Regions from separate parts of the Homo sapiens genome. Here regions 2 and 3 are each linked to region 1. The links are contacts of gene promoters, found by promoter capture Hi-C in blood cells and fetal thymus (Javierre and others, 2016). All regions are on one chromosome and are shown on one strand. Each heading gives the region's core, a stretch centred on a gene start or on the middle of the fragment in contact. The rest is flanking DNA. Distances are from core to core; before and after follow the strand shown. Region 1 holds the start of COPS7A (COP9 signalosome subunit 7A). Region 2 holds the start of CD27-AS1 (CD27 antisense RNA 1). Region 3 overlaps TNFRSF1A (TNF receptor superfamily member 1A).

What was found. The method cuts DNA at HindIII sites, captures the fragments that hold promoters and counts their contacts. A CHiCAGO score of 5 or more calls a contact.
Region 2: the fragment with the promoter of CD27-AS1 here is called in contact with the fragment with the promoter of COPS7A in region 1 in 3 of 17 cell types (naive B cells, naive CD4 T cells and total B cells); the score reaches 5.6 in naive B cells.
Region 3: a contact is called between a fragment that was not itself captured here and the fragment with the promoter of COPS7A in region 1, in 1 of 17 cell types (total CD4 T cells). The highest score is 5.4, in total CD4 T cells.

What each region holds. Positions count from the first base shown.
Region 1 is chr12:6,722,451-6,725,358 of GRCh38, forward strand. It overlaps COPS7A (COP9 signalosome subunit 7A), which reads left to right and starts at 1,596. Exons shown (of 8, transcript NM_001164094.2): 1 at 1,596-1,729; 2 at 2,164-2,368. The coding sequence starts at 2,207. RefSeq lists enhancers at 1,521-1,730, 1,761-1,900, 2,031-2,250. The HindIII fragment of the contact is 1,412 bases long and covers 282-1,693 here.
Region 2 is chr12:6,450,267-6,453,301 of GRCh38, forward strand. It overlaps CD27-AS1 (CD27 antisense RNA 1), which reads right to left and starts at 1,251. Exons shown (of 6, transcript NR_015382.2): 1 at 75-1,251. CD27 (CD27 molecule) reads left to right here. Exons shown (of 6, transcript NM_001242.5): 3 at 1-86; 4 at 275-364; 5 at 629-748; 6 at 1,002-1,447. The coding sequence ends at 1,126. It overlaps TAPBPL (TAP binding protein like), which reads left to right and starts at 1,776. Exons shown (of 7, transcript NM_018009.5): 1 at 1,776-2,046; 2 at 2,801-3,031. The coding sequence starts at 1,983. RefSeq lists enhancers at 586-795, 886-1,045, 1,476-2,075. The HindIII fragment of the contact is 9,942 bases long and covers 1-3,035 here.
Region 3 is chr12:6,330,535-6,333,483 of GRCh38, forward strand. It overlaps TNFRSF1A (TNF receptor superfamily member 1A), which reads right to left. Exons shown (of 10, transcript NM_001065.4): 4 at 2,833-2,949; 5 at 2,535-2,613; 6 at 319-392; 7 at 64-177. Among named protein-coding and RNA genes, the nearest start is that of TNFRSF1A, 10 kb to the right of the region's middle. The HindIII fragment of the contact is 4,278 bases long and covers 1-2,949 here.

The DNA.
Region 1 (2,908 bases), core at 346-2,845:
GTAATCCCAGCACTTTGGGAGTCTGAGGCGGGCGGATCACGAGGTCAGGAGATCGAGACCATCCTGGCTAACACGGTGAAACCCCGTCTCTACTAAAAATACAAAAATTAGCCGGGCGTAGTGGCGGGCGCCTGTAGTCCCAGCTATTCGGGAGGCTGAGGCCAGAGAATGGCGTGAACCCGGGAGGCGAAGCTTGCAGTGAGCCGAGATCGCGCCACTGCACTCCAGCCTGGGCGACAGAGCGAGACTCCGTCTCAAATTAAAAAAAAAAAAAAAAGATAAGCTTGGGGCGGGGAGGGGTGGATGCAAAATAATAATAATAATGTTTGGACTCATTAATTCCTTGCTTCCTTCAAACTCTGAATATTTTATTATGCCTTTGATTCCTTCTACTCACTTTTGTTTCACCTTTTCCATTCATTTCTTCTTCTCCTCTTCCTCCTTTCTCTTTCCTTTCTGTGTTTCTGCTTATTTTCTATCACAAACCAAAATATGCGGACCATAAACTGCATCTGCAGTTCCTTTAGCCCTAACAGACTACGAGTCCTATTTCTCTTTATCTTTCTCTTTTTCACTTTCTTGTCTTTCCATTACTTACAAGTTTCTTAATTTTCCTGAGTTCAGTTTTTCCATCTGGAAAGTGGAGATAACAATTACTAGATCGTTGTATCAGATGAATTAAGTAATGCTCATGGCTTAACACAAAGGCCAAGATGTCATTAACTTTACCCTCACTTGACCTTCTGCAAGCCTGTTGTGAAATATAAAACACTATAGAAATGTTAGTTGTTTTTGTTTTTATTAAAGTATCATATTGAAGTAGAAAGATGGTTTTGAGTTTGAAAAGCTCCAGATAAATCCTTGGATTTTTATGAGCCTCAATTTCCTTTTCTGTAAAATGAGAACCACATAGGGTTTTTTCCTCCCCAAGAAATTAAGAGTCCATGTACTGAAAGCATCATTCTACAAGTATTAATACATATGTAGTAATCATGGTAGAGGGTGTCCTGAAGTCACAGGGGAATATTTGTGAGGATTCAACGGAATAAAATTTTAAAAGATGTCTGACCAATAGTAAGCACTCAATACATGTTAGCTTTATTCTCTCTTTTATTTTTCTCGCTTCTTTTCTCCTGCTCTTCAAAAAAGTGAGTGGTTGAACCACCTAGGTGATCTCTGCTGCTAAACTTCTATTATTGATTTTTGTTTGCTTCCTCTCTGCCCCTTGTTTCCTCATCCCGTTTTTTTCCCTCTTCTTCACTCCTTCCGTTACAGCTTTTCTCTTGCCTCAGGTACCCAGTGCAGTCCTGATCTCCAGCTCTCCAGCGGCTTAGAACAGACACAGAATGGGCCGGGACCAGGGACCCACCAGAGACGTCTGTAGTTAATAGCTGGCGCTCTTCCACTAATAAAGTTTTATTGAAATAAAGCATTTAAAAAGGCGCCCGTCATTCTTCCCCCAGCGACCAATCGAAGAGTAGAATGCCTGCGTCCCTCACTGGAGCTTCAGCGGTCGGAACGCGGGGGTGGGGCATGTCCTGCCGAAATTTGCGTCCTTAGAGCGGAAGTACGGCCGGAAGCCCGCCATAGAGTTTAGTGGCCAGAGCGACTCTTCAGGGAGGTGGCAGGAAAGGCTTGGAACAGCTGCCGGAGGTGACGGAGCGGCGGCCCCGCCCGGTGCGCTGGAGGTCGAAGCTTCCAGGTAGCGGCCCGCAGAGCCTGACCCAGGGTACGACGAAGCAGTCGGCGGGAGCCCACGGTCGCTGGGCGGTGTCTTTAAGGGAGGGGGCGGAGCCACGTGTAAGCTTCAATGGGGGTGAGGTCACGTGGTTGTGGGCGCGTGCGGGGCAGCAATGGAGAGCTGAGGGAGCGTCGTCAGGGTGGACACCATGCGACACCCATTTCTCCTTTGCATCCTGTGTCTTGGGGTTCAATGGGGTGCACGTGATGGGGCTTGGGGTTAGGCCCAGGGGAGGGGGTGGGTGTGGCAGCCTTGCGAAGTGGCTGACTTTAGGATTCCTAGATCAGAATTTTAGACCGCTCCATGTCTGATTCCTCACCGCAGAACCGACTTAGTGCCTTTACAATCCAGTCCCTCAGCCTTGTGCTTCCCATCCGACCAGCCATCGGGGACCTCTAGCTTCACATCCTCTTTCCTTGCAGCTCTGGACATCCTGAGCCCAAGTCCCCCACACTCAGTGCAGTGATGAGTGCGGAAGTGAAGGTGACAGGGCAGAACCAGGAGCAATTTCTGCTCCTAGCCAAGTCGGCCAAGGGGGCAGCGCTGGCCACACTCATCCATCAGGTGCTGGAGGCCCCTGGTGTCTACGTGTTTGGAGAACTGCTGGACATGCCCAATGTTAGAGAGGTGGGTTGCTGGCTTGAATAGCCCTCAGAGAAGCGTGGGCAAAGGTTTGAATTTGAGAATGGGTGGGCAGGGCTCATTTTGTGATCCAATAACCATTCAGTTGAACAAGAAAACAGTGATAATTAAATGCCAACTTGCAGAAGTAACCAGTGAACAAGCAAACCAGCTCTCCTTTGGAGATAAGGGATCTGTAAAGCCCACTATTTTTCATTTTAAGCAAAAGAGCATCCTATTCAGAATAGGAAACCTGATTTCCAGCCGGTCTCCACCAGTGTAGTAGCTGTTAATTCTCATGTCACCTTGATCAGGTCACTTTTGTTTTAGGGCTTCAGCTTTCTCTTTTTTTTTTTTTTTTTGAGACGGAGTCTTGCTCTGTCACCCAGGCTGGAGTGCAGTGGCGTGATCTCAGCTGAGTGCAAGCTCTGCCTCCTGGGTTCACGCCATTCTCCTGCCTCAGCCTCCTCAGTAGCTGGGACTACAGGCGCCCGCCACCATGCCCGGCTAACTTTTTTGTATTTTTAGTAGAGATGGGATTTCACT
Region 2 (3,035 bases), core at 1-2,500, 270 kb before region 1:
TCCTCTTCCAAACCCTTCGCTGACCGCTCGGTCGTCTCAGGCCCTGAGCCCACACCCTCAGCCCACCCACTTACCTTATGTCAGTGGTAAGTTCCAGGCAACTCTCTGTGCCATCACGTGGGGTAGCGGTGATACCCCAACCAGTACTCCCCACTCCTACCCCTAGATAAGGTCAGCCTGTTTCTGCCTTCCCATCCCATCCAGCACCTCTCAGGCCTTCAGATGTGCCCTATGGGGTCCCCTGCTGCTACTCATTCTGTCTCTGTTTTTCCAGAGATGCTGGAGGCCAGGACAGCTGGGCACATGCAGACTCTGGCTGACTTCAGGCAGCTGCCTGCCCGGACTCTCTCTACCCACTGGCCACGTGAGTTTTCTCCTTAATCCCCACCGCTAGAGAGAATGCATACACGAGGGGCCAGGAGGGAAGCCAGACAGAAAGCTCCTAGGATTAGGGATAAGAGGAGGGGAAAAAGCAGAGTCCACTGTTTAGGAGAGGAGTTGGCCAACGGTGGCGGGTGGGATAGAATAAGGTGGGGGAAAGGGGAGAGGCAAGGTGACAGGAGGGCTGGGCTGAGGGAGCCAAGGGCTAGACCCTCCCCTAACCCCTGTGTGTCCCCTCCTATTACAGCCCAAAGATCCCTGTGCAGCTCCGATTTTATTCGCATCCTTGTGATCTTCTCTGGAATGTTCCTTGTTTTCACCCTGGCCGGGGCCCTGTTCCTCCATCAACGAAGGAAATATAGATCAAGTAAGAGACAGAACACAGGCCTCCGGTCCTGCCCCTGCACCACACCCCACTGGCTCAACCCCACTGCCCACGCCTGGAATCTCACTGAAACCCACCAGCTCCACTTCACCAGCCTTGGTCCTACCCCTTCTCTCCCCTTAGCTGGCGTGCTCCTGACACCCCTCCCCCAAGCGCACCCGCCTCTACCCATCTCCTTCTCCCGTCTCCCCCTGCCCCCACTGCTGGCCAAGACTCATCGGATCTCCTTCTGCAGACAAAGGAGAAAGTCCTGTGGAGCCTGCAGAGCCTTGTCATTACAGCTGCCCCAGGGAGGAGGAGGGCAGCACCATCCCCATCCAGGAGGATTACCGAAAACCGGAGCCTGCCTGCTCCCCCTGAGCCAGCACCTGCGGGAGCTGCACTACAGCCCTGGCCTCCACCCCCACCCCGCCGACCATCCAAGGGAGAGTGAGACCTGGCAGCCACAACTGCAGTCCCATCCTCTTGTCAGGGCCCTTTCCTGTGTACACGTGACAGAGTGCCTTTTCGAGACTGGCAGGGACGAGGACAAATATGGATGAGGTGGAGAGTGGGAAGCAGGAGCCCAGCCAGCTGCGCCTGCGCTGCAGGAGGGCGGGGGCTCTGGTTGTAAAACACACTTCCTGCTGCGAAAGACCCACATGCTACAAGACGGGCAAAATAAAGTGACAGATGACCACCCTGCAGCTCTCCAGCTTCCTCTCTGAAATCCCAGTCCCAAAATCCAGTTTCCTGGCCGCCTCCTGGCTCAGGTCAGGATCTGGCAGAGGAGGTTTCTCAGCCGGTTATGTTGGGGCCTGCTTAAGGGCGGGGGTGAGAAAGGTCCCCAGGCTACTGTGGATCCTGTGTCTGACTTCAGATCCCCTTTTCCCACAGTTATAGCTCCACTTTTTTGGGACAGGTGGGGAGCAAAAGGGTGCAGAGGTCAGGTCTTGAAATCACCAGGGGATTTCCGGGTGAGGTGGGTGGTGAGAAAGGAAACAGCAAGCAGGGCTCTGGCAGCTGCTGCAGACGGCTTCACACAGGGACGCGGGCTGCCATCTTGCTCTAAGTGAAAGTGAAAGAAAAGTCGGCAGCAGAGGGAACAGGGAAGAAACCTAAAGGCTGCAGGCTGCCAGGTGTGCTTGGAGAGCCCCCTTCTTCCGCCGGGCCTCGCAAGCAGCGTAGGACTGTGGAGAAGGGCGGTGGGCAAGGAGGGAACTCGAGAGCAGCCTCCATGGGCACACAGGAGGGCTGGTGCCTGCTGCTCTGCCTGGCTCTATCTGGAGCAGCAGAAACCAGTGAGTCTGGGAGTCGGGGAGAGCTGGCTGGGAGAAGAGCTACTGAAGCCCCAGGGTGCCACCCTCCCCGAGATTCCAGAAGAGCAAAGGGGCCGGGGATGACCCCATCGCCTTCTAAGCCCAACAGGGGAAAGGCTCAGCGGCTGGCAAAGGAAGGAACCAATAGTGTGTGTGGAGGGAGGGTGGGGACTCCACAGGGAAAATGCTAAAGAGGGGCTGCCTCTGTGGCTGTGGTCAGGAGCCACTGTCCTACAGAGAGGGCACTGGCCTGGGAGCTGACACTTCAGAAGAGGAAAGGACTCCCCAGGTGAGGAAATCACTTGGAAGGTGACCTTGAAGGCGGGGGAGGGGAAGGCTACCCGAAATGGGAGAAAGCAGTGCAGGCTGTCAGTGCCCCAGCAACAGTAACTGTCCAGTCTCCTCTCTCTGCGGTGGCACTTGCTTGTTTTCTGAGAATTCCTTTGACTGAAAAGATAGTCTTTTATTCAACAGTTGGAAATGCAAGCATAAACTCCTCTGAGCAAGGCAAATCCAGGACTTTAACTCTCACCAAGAAGTATTTGCCTGGACTAGCAGGTGCTCTCCAGAAAGCTGGTTTGGGGATGACGGGAGAATAGAGGGACACAGAAACAGCTAGGATCTTGGATGGCAACTTTTACCCTTTGATGACTCCACAGCTTGAGGGCGGGGGCAGGAAGCAAGTGTGGAGTAGCTTTCTGGGGAAGGCGGTGCTCACCCCAGCCTTTGTCTGCAGAGCCCCACCCAGCAGAGGGGCAGTGGCGGGCAGTGGACGTGGTCCTAGACTGCTTCCTGGCGAAGGACGGTGCGCACCGTGGAGCTCTCGCCAGCAGTGAGGACAGGGCAAGGGCCTCCCTTGTGCTGAAGCAGGTGCCAGTGCTGGACGATGGCTCCCTGGAGGACTTCACCGATTTCCAAGGGGGCACACTGGCCCAAGATGACCCACCTATTATCTTTGAGGCCTCAGGTAA
Region 3 (2,949 bases), core at 373-2,872, 390 kb before region 1:
GCACCCACCCATGTCCTCCCTCACCCCCACCAGCTCCCTCTCCCTCCCAAAGCCCCCACTCACCAATGGAGTAGAGCTTGGACTTCCACCGTTGGTAGCGATACATTAAACCAATGAAGAGGAGGGATAAAAGGCAAAGACCAAAGAAAATGACCAGGGGCAACAGCACTGTGGTGCCTGCAGACAAAGCAGGTGTTGGTCAGAGGAGCGGGCAGAGGGGGGCCGCAGGGATAGATGGATGGGTGGGATGGATGGACGGGTGGGGGCAAGAAGAGGGAGAGGGCAGGTGAGCATGGGCACCAGGTCACTTCTCCTCACCTGAGTCCTCAGTGCCCTTAACATTCTCAATCTGGGGTAGGCACAACTTCGTGCACTCCAGGCTTTTCTTACAGCTAAAAGAAGAGACGGCACTGGTGAACAGAGGCCCTACCATTGGAGGAACACAGAAAAACAACCACACAGATTGTTGGACATCCTTTCTTTACAAATATTTTTGCTGTCTCTTGATATAATTTGTTTTGGGAACTGATGCAGAAGAATGAAACACAGTTAATCATAGAATCATTTAATTTTAGAATTGGCAGGGATCTTGAAAAGGCTGTGTAGAAAATGTGAAAAGCAGTCAGGGTCAGGGTGTAAATTCCAGTTCATTCCTTGGCTAGCAGTGTGAATCTAGGCAAGCCATTAACCCCCAAGCCTCGGTTTCCTCATCACCACAGGGATCGCCCACCTCTCAGGATTGAGGATTAAGCAAAATCATTATGCCTCATTTAATAAGTGCTTGAGAAGGTAGCCAGCTAGCTGTTATGGGATTGTTGTTTCATCACTGTTTTGCTGATAAGAATCCTTTGGCAAAGAGAGGTTAAAGGGCTTTTTCTTAAATGACACTGCTAGTTACAGTACCTGACTTCGGGGAGTCGGGGTCAAACATGCATGTGAAAAATTTAAAAACACATGTTACTGGGGCAGCCAGAGAGCACCCTGTAGAACTAGCAGATCTTCCATGTTGGGAGTTGTCACTGGACAGTGTGGAGTGATGGGAACTCTATGGGGTGGTGCTGGAAGGAACTTGAGAGAGTGAGTTCCCAGCAGGAAGCTGAAAGCAGGGAGAGGCACTTTAGCCCACCACTCAAGCTCATGGTGAGAACCACATAGAATGGTATAAAAGTGATTTCAAGAAGAGATGAAGCCGGCTGGGTGCAGTGGCTCACGGCTGTAATCCCAGCACTTTGGGAGGCAGAGGCAGGTGGATCACCAGGAGTTTGAGACCAGCCTGACCAAGATGGTGAAACCCCATCTCTACTAAAAATACAAAAATTAGCCAGGCATGGTGGCACGTGCCTGTAATCCCAGCTACTTGGGAGGCTGAAGCAGGAGAATTGCTTGAATCTGGGAGGCAGAGGTTGCAGTGAGCCGAGATCGCGCCACTGCATTCCAGCCTGGGCGACAGAGCAGGACTCTGTGTCAAAAAAAAAAAAAAAAAAAAAAAAGAAGATTAATGGAAAATAAATAGTTTTGTGTCAGACGTGTTGTAGGTTTTGTTTGTTTCTTTGTTTTTGGTTCTCACAAATTCACCAAATGAATGTCATTATGCTTACTTTAAATATAAGAAATCTAAGGCCCAGGCCAGGCGTGGTGGCTCATGCCCGTAATCCTAGCACTTTGGGAGGCTGAGGCGGAAGATCGCTTGAGCCCAGGAGTCCGAGGCCAGCCTGGGCAATATAGTAGGACCCTGTCTCTACAAAAAGTAAAACATTAGCTGGGTGTAGTGGTGTGTGCCTCTAATCCCAGCTACTCAGGAGGCTAAGGCAAGAGGATGGCTTGAGCCCTGGAGGTGGAGGCTGAGCCACGGTTGCACCACTGCACTCCAGCCTGGGTGACAGAGTGAAACCCTGTCTCAAAAAAAAAAAAAAAAAAAAAACACCAAAAGAAAAGTCAGGCTCAGAGATGTTAAGAAACTTGCCCAACGTCACATAGCCAGTAAGTGGCTATGCTGGGGTTCAAACTCTGAGAGCCCTCAGAGTTTATTCTTTGCAAGTGAGTGACAAGAACAGCCTCTGTGGAGCCAGGAGTAAGGAGGCCTGGACAGTGACTAATGAGGAAATACCATATTGCATCAAACCTAAGACGCCATCAAGAATAAAAGGCACTTTTCTTTACATTACTACCCAGACGCAAACAGAGCTGCCAATTCAACCATGATGAGTCACCAGTTATAGGAGGTTTGATTTCAGAGCTATAAGAGTGTATGTCCTAGAACCAATGAGCTATCGTAGATCCAAGAATCTACATATCTGAGTTGGAAGGGCTGCCAGCCCTTGGGGCATGATCTTCCATCCTCAAAGACTTCTTCAGATTTGAAGAGCAAGGGGAAGGACTGCCTGGTGTCTTAACGAAGTGTCTCCTACTCAGCCAGTAGGACCCTGAGCACTCTGGGGCATCCTGGCATCTGTTGCCCAGCTAATGGTTCCCACCAGTCACCCGTCCCAACCCATGCCACCATCCAGTGCCCAGCAGCTCTCAGAGATACTCACTTACTACAGGAGACACACTCGTTTTCTCTTAGAAAGAAACCTGCATGGCAGGTGCACACGGTGTTCTGTTTCTCCTGGCCTGTAGGGAGAAGTGCGGCACAGCTAAAGGAGAAGCGCCTGCACCCCCACCCCACAGGACAGAGGAAGTGACGAGGGACAGGGTGGGGGCGGCCAGAGAGGAGTTGGTTGTCAGACCCACAGAATACAGGAGGGGGAAGGAAAGGAAGTGCCACCGCATGGGGAAGGGGCCAACCCCTGGGGTGGGGAGAGGGCTTGGCCTCAGGAGAGCTGCGCTCACAGGAGAGGTGCACGGTCCCATTGAGGCAGAGGCTGCAATTGAAGCACTGGAAAAGGTTTTCACTCCAATAATGCCGGTACTGGTTCTTCCTGCAGCCACACACGGTGTCCCGGTCCA